Linked DNA regions of Homo sapiens: regions 2, 3 and 4 are each linked to region 1. Evidence: promoter capture Hi-C in human tissues and cell types (Jung and others, 2019). All regions are on one chromosome and are shown on one strand. Each heading gives the region's core, a stretch centred on a gene start or on the middle of the fragment in contact. The rest is flanking DNA. Distances are from core to core; before and after follow the strand shown.

The links. The method cuts DNA at HindIII sites, captures the fragments that hold promoters and counts their contacts. A contact is called where the count stands out against the background at its distance.
Region 2: a contact is called between a fragment that was not itself captured here and the fragment with the promoter of CCDC110 in region 1, in 1 of the 25 tissues and cell types used here (heart left ventricle).
Region 3: a contact is called between a fragment that was not itself captured here and the fragment with the promoter of CCDC110 in region 1, in 2 of the 25 tissues and cell types used here (H1 embryonic stem cells and aorta).
Region 4: a contact is called between a fragment that was not itself captured here and the fragment with the promoter of CCDC110 in region 1, in 1 of the 25 tissues and cell types used here (dorsolateral prefrontal cortex).

Annotation. Positions count from the first base shown.
Region 1 is chr4:185,470,408-185,473,109 of GRCh38, forward strand. CCDC110 (coiled-coil domain containing 110) reads right to left here and starts at 1,326. Exons shown (of 7, transcript NM_152775.4): 1 at 1,267-1,326; 2 at 538-642. The coding sequence starts at 1,276. It overlaps LOC105377590 (a long non-coding RNA gene), which reads left to right and starts at 1,024. Exons shown (of 2, transcript NR_133944.1): 1 at 1,024-1,353; 2 at 1,708-1,856. RefSeq lists a silencer at 911-1,540. The HindIII fragment of the contact is 7,773 bases long and covers 1-2,702 here.
Region 2 is chr4:186,133,492-186,136,193 of GRCh38, forward strand. All of the region lies in intron 1 of FAM149A (family with sequence similarity 149 member A), which reads left to right. Among named protein-coding and RNA genes, the nearest start is that of FAM149A, 30 kb to the left of the region's middle. RefSeq lists an enhancer at 692-851. The HindIII fragment of the contact is 5,745 bases long and covers 1-2,702 here.
Region 3 is chr4:186,041,746-186,044,447 of GRCh38, forward strand. No RefSeq gene overlaps it. Among named protein-coding and RNA genes, the nearest start is that of TLR3, 26 kb to the right of the region's middle. The HindIII fragment of the contact is 6,003 bases long and covers 1-2,702 here.
Region 4 is chr4:186,023,872-186,026,573 of GRCh38, forward strand. It overlaps the pseudogene RNU4-64P. Among named protein-coding and RNA genes, the nearest start is that of TLR3, 44 kb to the right of the region's middle. The HindIII fragment of the contact is 3,937 bases long and covers 1-2,702 here.

The DNA.
Region 1 (2,702 bases), core at 76-2,575:
ATACTGTTCAAAATTTGCATTTAAAAATTGTGGTACTGTTATTTTTAAAAATTTTCCCCCCTGAATATTTTCCATCTGTGGTTGGTTGAATCCAAGGATGCGGAACTCCCAGATACCGAGGGCTGACTGCATATCGTTTTAGTGTGTGTCCAAAAAACTCAACAATTCTTACTTAGCATTCAGAGAAGCAACGGAGCGTAGCGTGGTGGTGAAGACAGGCAGTCCGGAGCCGCCCTGCTGAATGCCCGCTCCATTCCTCGCTGCCTGTGTGACCTTAGGGAGTTAACCTCTCTGTGCCCGTTTCCTTATCTGCAAAATGGGGATCGTGGTAGCACCCACCTCGTAAAAGTGTTGTGAGAATTAAACAGTTGATCCATTACGTGCTTAGAACAGCACTGGCACAAAGCGCGAGTGCCGTGGTGGCTGCTGTCCGTGTCATCACGGCCGTGGGAAGCACGCCAGGTGAGCAGGTGGCACAGGCCAGATGCTGCCGCCTGTGTATAGTTAAAGGAGCCTTTTACGGTCTGGCGATTTTACCTGTGTCACTGCAGCCACTTTCCTTCACCCCCTCCGAAGAATTTAGGATCTTGGACGCTGAAAGGAGAACGGAGTCAACTTCATCCTCTTCCCGGTGCTGCTTTTCTGTAACAGAACCGTCCGGGGCTGTTCTGTCGCGGGTCGTGGCGTGGCGGGGCTGAAGGTGGGGGCGGGGCAGAGGGATGGGGCGGGGCAGGGCTAACGGCTGGGGCGGGGCGGAGGGAATTAGGAGGGGGCGGGGCTGAAGGCTGGGGCGGGGGGGCGGGGAGGGCGGGGAGGGCGGGGCGGAGGGAATTAGGAGGGGGCGGGTTTGAAGGCTGGGGCGGGGCGCAGGGATGGGATGGGGCGGAGAGACTGGGCGGGACCTGTGGGGGCAGAGGAATGGGGCGGGGTCAAGGCTGAAGGCTGGGGCGGGGCGGAGGGATGGGGCGGAGGGACGGCATCAGGCCGGGCCTGGGGCGGGGCGCGGCGCTTTCCGCAAGCGGCCACCCGAGGGCGCGCTGGGCGGGCGGCGGCGGCAGACCACGTAGCCAGCCTGTAAGCCACAGCGGACGCAGGGGGCCGCAGCGGGTGCTCAGCCCTAGGGCCGAGCGGGAGATGTGCGGCGAGTGCAGAAGGGCGGACCCGGGATGTCCCGGGTTTTCGAGCGGGGAGCCGCCTGCTGAATGCCCTTCTGCTGCCCTCCGTTCCCGCGGCTCCCCTAGGAGCCCCGCCCCGTCCAACTCTTACCCGGGCTCATCGCCGCGGCTCATCTCTCTCGCAACCGCCGCCGCACGCACCCGCTCCGCCGCCCCGCGCAGGGCATCCTGTCGCCAGGTAACCGGGTGGCCGGGGCGCCGGCCCCACCCCCACCCTCGGCGGCGCGCGCTCGGCTGGGGTCCCTGGTGGGGTCCCGGTGGGTCCCTCCTCACTCCGGACGCTTCCCCGAGAGCTTCCCTGGGAACCTGGCCTGGGACAGCCCACCTGGGCGCCTCCCCGCACACGCGCGCGGCTGTCCGGGACGGGCTTGCTCACACTCGGACTCGCTGCGGTACCCGCCGGACCAAAGCGGTGCGGAGAAAGGGACCGCCCGGGGACGGACACACGCCTGAGAGCTTTCCCTTTGCCTTTCCACATCTCCACTTCATCGCTGTTGTTTTTTTTTTTTAATTCTTAGTCCTCTCATTTCAGCGCATCCCTCAGAGGAGTTTCAGCATTTGGGGATTTGAACGGCCCATGACCAATATTGTGAAAGGACTTTTGTTTGCTGCAATGAAAAGAAGACTCCTATTTTTCAATAATGAATTAACCTAAACATGTATTAAAATATGCTCATGAAAGCTGTGGGAAGCGACGGTGGGCTTCCTTTGTCTAAGCATGTTAATTTTTACGCACCTGGTGTATCACGTGCAGGATTGATGTTGCGTTCACGGGAAACCTGACCTCCTTTAACCAAGGACTGGGTGCGTGCCCCCAGCTAATCCTCCTGCCCATCAGAAAATGGTGCTCTTTAAAGTTTTAAACGAGTATATATTATTTATTTTGTAGTAAACCATCACACATAGAAAATTAAAATTCAAAATCACAATCACCAGGATATCATAATTTGCTATATAATAACATATAATATATAATAAGTAATACATGATGGCTTGCTTTCATTGAAATGAAACTTCTTATGATAGTTTCAGTGCTTACTTCCTCTAATTTGTTTCTTATAGAAATGGGCTCTAGTGCACGCGCCTGTAATCTCAGCTACTCAGGAGGCTGAGGCAGGAGAATCGCTTGAACCCAGGAGGCGGAGGTTGCAGTGAGCCGAGATGGCGCCACTGTGCTCCAGCCTGGGCAACAGAGCCAGACTCCGTCTCAAAAAAACAAAAAAAAACAAACAAAAAAAAAAAAAAGAAAAGAAATGGGCTCTAGGTCCGGCATGATGGCTCACACCTGTAATCCCAGCACTTTGGGAGGCCGAGGCGGGTGGATCACCTGAGGTCAGGAGTCCGAGACCAGCCTGACCAACATGGTGAAACCTTGTCTCTACTAAAAATACCAAAATTAGCCAGGTATGGTGGAGTACATTCGTAATCCCAGCTACTCGGGAGGCTGAGGCAGGAGAATCACTTGAACCCAGGAGGCAGAGGCTGCAGTGAGTCGACATAGTGCAACTGCACTCCAGCCTGGGCCAC
Region 2 (2,702 bases), core at 125-2,624, 660 kb after region 1:
CGTAAAGATTTTAAGGTTCATCCATGTTATAGCATGAATCAGATTTTCATTCCCTTTTAAGACAATATTTAATTGTATGTATTAATATATACTACCTTTTGTTTATCCATTCTTCTGTTGATGGACATTTGGGTTGCTTCCCTCTTCAGCTGTGTGAACAATGCTGCTATGAACATTTTTTAGAGATGGGGTCCTGCTCTGTCACTCAGGCTGGAGTACAGTGGCGTGATCATAGCTCACTGCAACCCTGACCTCCTGGGCTCAGGTGATCCTCCTGCCTCAGCCTCCCAGAGTACCAGGGAGGACAGGCATGTGCCACCACACCTACCTACTTTTTAAATTTTCTGTAGAGACAGGATCTCCCTGTATTGCCCAAGGTGGTCTCGAACTCCTGGCTCAAGTGATCAGCCCACCTCAGCCTCCCAAAGTGTTGGGATTACAGGTATGAGCCACTGCACCTGGCCTGTGTCCCTGCTTTTAATTCTTTCAGTGTATACCAAGAAGTGGGATTGCTGGATCCTATGGTAATTTTGTGTTTCACTTTTGAGGAATCACAAACGATTTTTTTATACTAGCTGCACCATTTTACGTTTCCACCGGTGATGCACGAGGATTCCCATTCCTCTACATCTTCACCAAAACTTACTTTCTTTATCTCTTTTTAAACAGCCACTCTAATGAGTTTAAAATGGAGGACTGATCTTTTTTACATTTTTTGGCAAGGGCTTCCAGACAGCATCGTGCGATGCTGTTGAAGATAGACACATCCCAGCCTCAGAGATTAAACCTGAGCAATTATGATCTTTATTTTCTTCTTTTGCAACATTTTAGACTGGTATTTTCCTGGGTCTGAAATAGGAAGAAAGCTGCATGTGAAGCATGTTCATGGCTGACTCTGTACTAGGTGCCGCAGCAAGGACAGGAAGAGCCTTTTGCTTTTTTAGGTGCATGAGAAAGACAGCGAGAACACAGTCATCCTGAGAGTGTCTGGCAGCCTGAGTTCTCCTTTCAGCTTTGGTCAGCTGAGAGCCCTGGATCACCAAGTAAAGAGGAACCTCTGTGCTCTCCCAAATGTCTTCGTTAGTCAGACCTAGGTTTTCCCTGGGTATCCTGCATTGCCCTAGAATCTGACAGTTTTGTTGTTTTACATTTAGAAAGGGTGTTCTGCTGGTGTTCCCACCCAAAGATGGAATAGGATTTACTTACAATTAAAGCTGTTGAGGGAAAGCCTAGCAGCCTCGTGTGCTGCAGGTTTGCAGGAATCTGGATTCTGGTCCCTGGCCTTCACCAAGCAGCAGCAGGCCTGCCCTTCTGAGACCTCGCTTTTTCTTCTCTGGAATACGAAGGCTTTCATTAGTTCCTCTACTCCTTCAAACATTGATTAAAGGTGTGCTGAGGCTAGGGTGACACAATTCAATATGACGCAGTTCCTGGGCTCAAGCAGTTTTTTAGGTGGGAATGCGTTGGGAGGACAGAATGTATAACAGATGAATCAGGGCGGTGGCTCTCGAAGTGCCATCCTGGGCCGCAGTACCAGCAGCACGTGGGATCCTGAGAAATCCACATTCGCACTGCAGACTTGCTGCACCAGAGACCGGGGTGGGGCCCAGCAACCTGGGTTTTTACGAGCTCTCTGGTGATCCTGCTGCATGTTACAATTTGAGAACCACTGAATTCAATTCTGACCTGACAAACTGCAGTGCAGACATAAGACAGCGGGCACCACCCCTTTGCCTCTACTCTCACGTTTTTTACTTTAGATTGTGTATTAAACATAAAATGCATGCAATCTCCCAATTCTAGTGTTCTGAAATTCCATCTGTATGTCTTGAAATTTAGTAAGAGATTTATGAAGACATTGTGTTGTAATGTCATATACATATGAGTGGTGGTAGAGGTAATAATCAGTTCTCATTATCCCTGGTAGTCATGGTCTGTGAAGTCACCGGAAACCATGATGTAGTGAATACTGAACCATAGCTGCAGAGGAAATACAGGGTTCGCGTCCTGTGAGTCTCCAGTCTCAACATTTTTGTCAACTGATCGATACCTGAGCTTGTCTAATGTGTGTTCGTGTTGAAAGACACCTCATTTAATATATAGTAGCGACTTGCTAACATTGAACTCACCGACAGCGCTGTCTATACCTCGTGCCTGAAAGCTGATCAACATACGTATTTCCTTCTCAAGGCACACCACAGCCTTCTGGCGCTTAGGAACACTCGGCAGCTTTAGCACAGCACTCCAAGACCACTTTACACAGCCAGATCACCCACAACAAGCACAACAATTTGGAAGACCTGTGACAGCACTGAATAGACCCACAAAAGTGCACACTTGTTGACAGCGTGAGAGCTGAAACAAGGCAGGGTCGCCTTGTGTGACCGCAGCGGGGAGCACGCAGTTGAAGGGACTCAGGTGTGTCATTGTTCTGCACATGTGCGGAGGGGCATGGAGGCACCACGCGTGTGGAGTTGGGGCTTACAGATGTATTTTAGCAAGTAGGTGAATTTGCAGAGGGTGAACCAGAGAATAATAAGGATCAATTGCATCTTAATATTTCAGTTACATAAAATCTAATGTACAACAGTGGTCTAGCAATTACTACGAAGTCTTTGTTTTCTGCTGTGCTGTTTAAAAGAGTAAATCAAACATTGAAAAACACATTTTAGGAAAATTTGGCCTTATTGATGTTGCAGTTT
Region 3 (2,702 bases), core at 53-2,552, 570 kb after region 1:
AAAAGTTAGCTGGGTGTGGTGGCAGGTGCCTATAATCCCAGCTACTTGGGAGGCTGAGGCAGGAGAATTGCTTGAACCCAGGAGGCAGAGGTTGCAGTGAGCTGAGATCACACCACTGCACTCCAGCCTGGGTGACAGGGGGAGACTCTGTCTAAGAAAAAACAAACAAACAAACAAACAAATACCATTATACTGAGTGAAAGAAGCCACGTAATATATTATTCTATCTATTGGAAATTCCAGAAATAGGCAAAAACTTACCTGTGGTAAAAAAGATATCAGAACAGCAGATGCTTCTGGGAGAAGGTGTCTGGGGAATACTGGCAGGGAATGAGCTAGAGAACTTCCTGGACCAAAGCAATAACGTTTCTATCTCTTCTTTTTTTTTTTTTTTTTGGAGACAGGGTCTCACTCTGTTGTCCATGCTGGAATGCAGTGGTGTGGTCACAGTTCACTGCAGCCTCAACCTCCTGGGTCAAGTGATCCTTCTGCCTCAGTCTCCCAAGTAGCTAGGACCACAAGCATGCACAACCACACCCAGCTAATTTTTGCATTTTTTTGTAGAGACAGGGTTTTGCCATGTTGCCCAGGCTGCGTTCTATATTTTAATGATGTGTTCATTTATCCACATTGATCAAGTGAAAACTTAAGATTTATGCATTTTCATTGCATGTAAATATTATCTAAAAAACACTTTAAACAAATATCCAACTCTACTTAACGATGTGCCTTGGGAAGACTAGGAGTGAAGTATATAGATGTCTGAAATTTACTTTCAAATGCATCAAACAACAAGACGGATTAAGAGAGGGATGGATAGATGGATGATTATGTGGTAAAGCAAATACAGTAAAACGTTAATTGTGCACTTAATCTTAGCCAAACGGCCGAGAAGCGATAAACGTTAATTGTGGAAGCTAAGGAATGGTATGTGGGTGTTCCCTGTACAATTTTTTCAGCTCTTCTATATGGTTGAACTGTTGGAAAATGGTGAATATAAAGAATCTCAGTGAATGTTCTGAAAGAAAGTCAATTTCTTTGTAATTGGATATGTAACTTAGAATGTCATTAATAGAATTTGAAGGACCAAACTCGAAGTTTAAAATAGAGGTGAGATTTTTAAAAAGGAATCGTGAAGTTTATCACCTCATTTATTCTGAGAAGCAGTTTATTATTTCAAGGTTTCACTGACAACCATAAACACTTGCGCAGATCCATGATGGTACCTCCCAGCTGTGAAATACACATATATGAACACACACATACACACAGAATTGATACCATGATGGTACCTCCCACCTGTGAAATATACATATATGAACATACACATGCACACAGAATTCGTACCATGATGGTACCTCCCAGCTGTGAAATACACATATATGAACATACACATGCACACAGAATTCATACCATGACGGTACCCCCCACCTGTGAAATACACATATATGAACATACACATGCACACAGAATTCGTACCATGATGGTACCGCCCACCTGTGAAATACACATATATGAAAATACACATGCACACAGAATTCGTACCATGATGGTACCGCCCACCTGTGAAATACACATATATGAACATACACATGCACACAGAATTCGTACCATGATGGTACCGCCCACCTGTGAAATACACATACATGAACATACACATGCACACAGAATTCGTACCATGATGGTACCTCCCACCTGTGAAATATACATATATGAACATACACATGCACACAGAATTCGTACCATGATGGTACCTCCCACCTGTGAAATACACATATATGAACATACACATGCACACAGAATTCATACCATGATGGTTCCGCCCACCTGTGAAATACACATATATGAACGTACACATGCACACAGAATTCATACCATGATGGTTCCGCCCACCTGTGAAATACACATATATGAACGTACACATGCACACAGAATTCATACTAACATTGCCAAAGTCCAGAACAACATATTTTAATAACTCTTCCGTGTACATCTGCATCTTCTTTCTTCCACAAGATGCTGATTTTCAAGGATGCAGATGATAGAATATTCAATGATTATTTATGTTCTTTATCCCGCATCATGCACAGTGTGCTGACTGTGAATATTTGGGTGTATATGCATATGAATGTCTGCCACATGTGATGTCAGAGGTAGAGACTACTTTACCACTTTCACATTTGGTAAACTCATAGGAAAGATGGCAAAAGGGGCCGGGCGCAGTGGCTCACGCCTGTAATCCCAGCACTTTGGGAGGCTGACGCAGGTGGATCACTTTCATGCGCGTCCGTGTGAAGAGACCACCAAACAGGCTTTGTGTGAGCAACAAGGCTGTTTATTTCACCTGGGTGCAGGCGGGCTGAGTCCGAAAAGAGAGTCAGCGAAGGGAGATAGGGGTGGGGCCATTTTATAGGATTTGGGTAGGTAAAGGAAAAAGGGGGGTTGTTCTCTGACAGGTAGGAGTGGGGGTCACAAGGTGCTCAGTAGGGGAGCTTTTGAGCCAGGATGAGCCAGGAGAAGGAATTTCACAAGACAATATCATCAGTTAAGGCAGGAACAGGCCATTTTCACTTCTTTTGTGGTGGAATGTCATCAGTTAAGGCAGGAACCGGCCATCTGGATGTGTACGTGCAGGTCACAGGGGATATGATGCCTTAGCTTGGGCTCAGAGGCCTGACATTCCTGTCTTCTTATATTAATAA
Region 4 (2,702 bases), core at 113-2,612, 550 kb after region 1:
AAGGGGACAGCGGGGCTGGACTCTGCCCACCCTGGCCCAGCTGGGCACCCAGCTCCCGTCCTGGCTCCTGCTCCTGTTCTGCCCCTCTCACCAGATTCTGAGCCTGGGTTTGTTCACAGACTGATCCCCAGACTCCAACGCCTGGGACTTGACACCTTCTGCTAAAACTCTTCTCTACATTCAACGTGCCGCAGGCTCACCTTTCACAAAACGACTAGATTTTGGCTGATGAGCCCTGTTCCCGTGGGCGTCTGACTGTAGTGAGTCCTTGTTTGGGCTGCACCGTTCCTGTCTCGGCACCGATGTAGTCGACCGTCCAGGTGAGGCCGAACCAGGAGAGCTTTGGCAGCGGTGAAGCCTCTCCATTCTTTCCAGACCAGTGCTGAAATACACCCCAGTGGTTCCAACAAATAAACTAATATCCAGACATCCACCCCTCCAGGGACAACAAATATAGAGGTTAATACAAATATTGAGAGGACAGGTGGGGCGTGGTGGCTCATGCCTGTAATCCCAGCACTTTGGGAGGCCGACGCAGGTAGATCACTTGAGGTCAGGAGTTTGAGAGCAGCCTGGCCAACATGGTGAAACCCTATCTCTAGTAAAAATACAAAAATTAATCATGGTGGCAGGCACCTGTAATCTCAGCGACTCGGGAGGCTGAGGCAGGAGAATTGCTTGAACCCAGGAGGCAGAGGTCGCAGTGAGCCGAGATCACGCCACTGCACTCCAGCTGCAGCCTAGGGCCGAGTGAGACCCTGTCTCCAAAAAACAAAACAAACAAAAAATAAAAAAAAAAAATAAAATAAAAATAAATATTGAGAGGACAAATATGAAAGAAAGCAGATTAGATATTGGCATCAAGCTTTTTAAAGAAAAAAATACTGATTTTATTCAAATGCAGCGAAGTTTCTATTATTAATACTGCCACCGCAGAACCCGCTGACCTTGCGAAATGCTGGGTTCACCTGCAGGACGCAGACACAGAGTTCACTGTGGCTAAGACCAGGTCAGCCTATGGGATCTAGAGAGTTCTGATCCAGGCAAACTCTTCCAGGAAATGGAACTGTGTATCAGAGAATGAGAAATAGAAGGAACACTTTTCTGTGAATGCCTCTTTACTGTCTCAGTATAGAAAACTTACACAAAATTCAAGAAGCAACTCAAATAACTCTGCCTCCTCATGCCCCTGCCTGCTACTTATTCAGATGCACGTTCCCACCGTGTTTCTCCCACTCTCGGGGCGGCACTCATGACTCTATGACGCTCGTTTCTGTGCCTTGCCTCCCCCAGGATTGTGAGCGAGGGTAAGACAAGGATTGTGCCTCATTCATCTCAGTATCTCAGCTCTTCGTAGAGTGATGTGCAAATAGTAGGCCCTTCAAAGATGCGCGGAGTTAACACAGAGTTCATTTCTGAAGCTTTTGGCAGCATGGATGCTGTTGATCCCTTGCTGGGAGGGAACTAAACTTCAGACCACCCATGTGGGATCTTGAAACAGAAACAGGGAATCCTGTTTTCACTTCATATGTAGATGGCTTTACAAAGATGTCACTCCCACCTTAGCAAGGAGGAAAAGCCATGTGATCTTCACAGTGCCAACTTTTCTTGAGCACTTCAGAAAGCTGAGGTTGCAAGGCAAGCAAGTGAAGTCAGTTCTGAGGAGTGACAGGTCCCTCGGGGAGAATCGGGCCGCACAGATGGTTTCACCCTTGGCAGAGTGTGAGAGGAGGGTGGATGGAGCAGCCGTAAAAGCAGGTTGGAAGAAAACAGCCAGGATGGGCCGGGTGCGGTGGCTAACGCCTGTAATCCCAGCACTTTGGGAGGCCGAGGCAGGCGAATCACAAGGTCAGGAGTTCGAGACCAGCCTGGCCAACATGGTGAAACCCCATCTCTACTAAAAATACAAAAATTAGCTAGGCATAGTGACAGGCGCCTGTAATCCCAGCTACTCGGGAGGCTGAGGCAGGAGAATCGCTTGAACCCGGGAGGCGGAGGTTGCATGAGCCGAGATCACGCCGCTGCACTTCAGTCCGGGGGGCGACAGAGTGAGAGTCCGTCTCAAAAACAAAAAAAGCAAAACGAAACAAAACAAACAAAAACAAAACAAAAAACCCAGCCAGAATGTAGCAAATTCTTAAAGTCTGAGTGTGAGCTTGTGTGCTAGATGGTTGAGAAAGCCCCGGTGGGCCTGAGACACAAGGAGAACCTGCATTCACCTAGTGTTAGCTCTTTCCACCATCTCCACTGTGTGCTCCTGAGGAAGATCTGGACAGGGAAGGACAATCCAGCTACTGTCCCTGACACAGATACTGCTTCAGGGGAGGGGAAGAAGCAAAAGCGCTGTTTGTCCTTGGGGGAAGACCTGGAAAATACTCAGGTGCAAGATCCTGTGATGGATGCAAAGCGAAGGCGGTTACCATGGGGAAGGGAGCTGGGAAGCTTTGCAAGCAGGAGGAATAGCTGCTGGGCAAAGTGACACCACTTTGTGGAAAGCTCACTATCACCACCTTCCTCTCAGCCCCTACAAGCCCAGAGAACAGGCAAAGTGCTTTGGCGGAGGTGTCTAGAAGAATCTAGTGCTTCTGTCACCAGGTGTGTGAAAATATCTCAACTCCTCACAAGGTCCACTGCCTTGCGCTGCTCATTTTCAATTAGCAATAATCATGCCTTGGATAAACCTCATTGGCTATGATACAGCC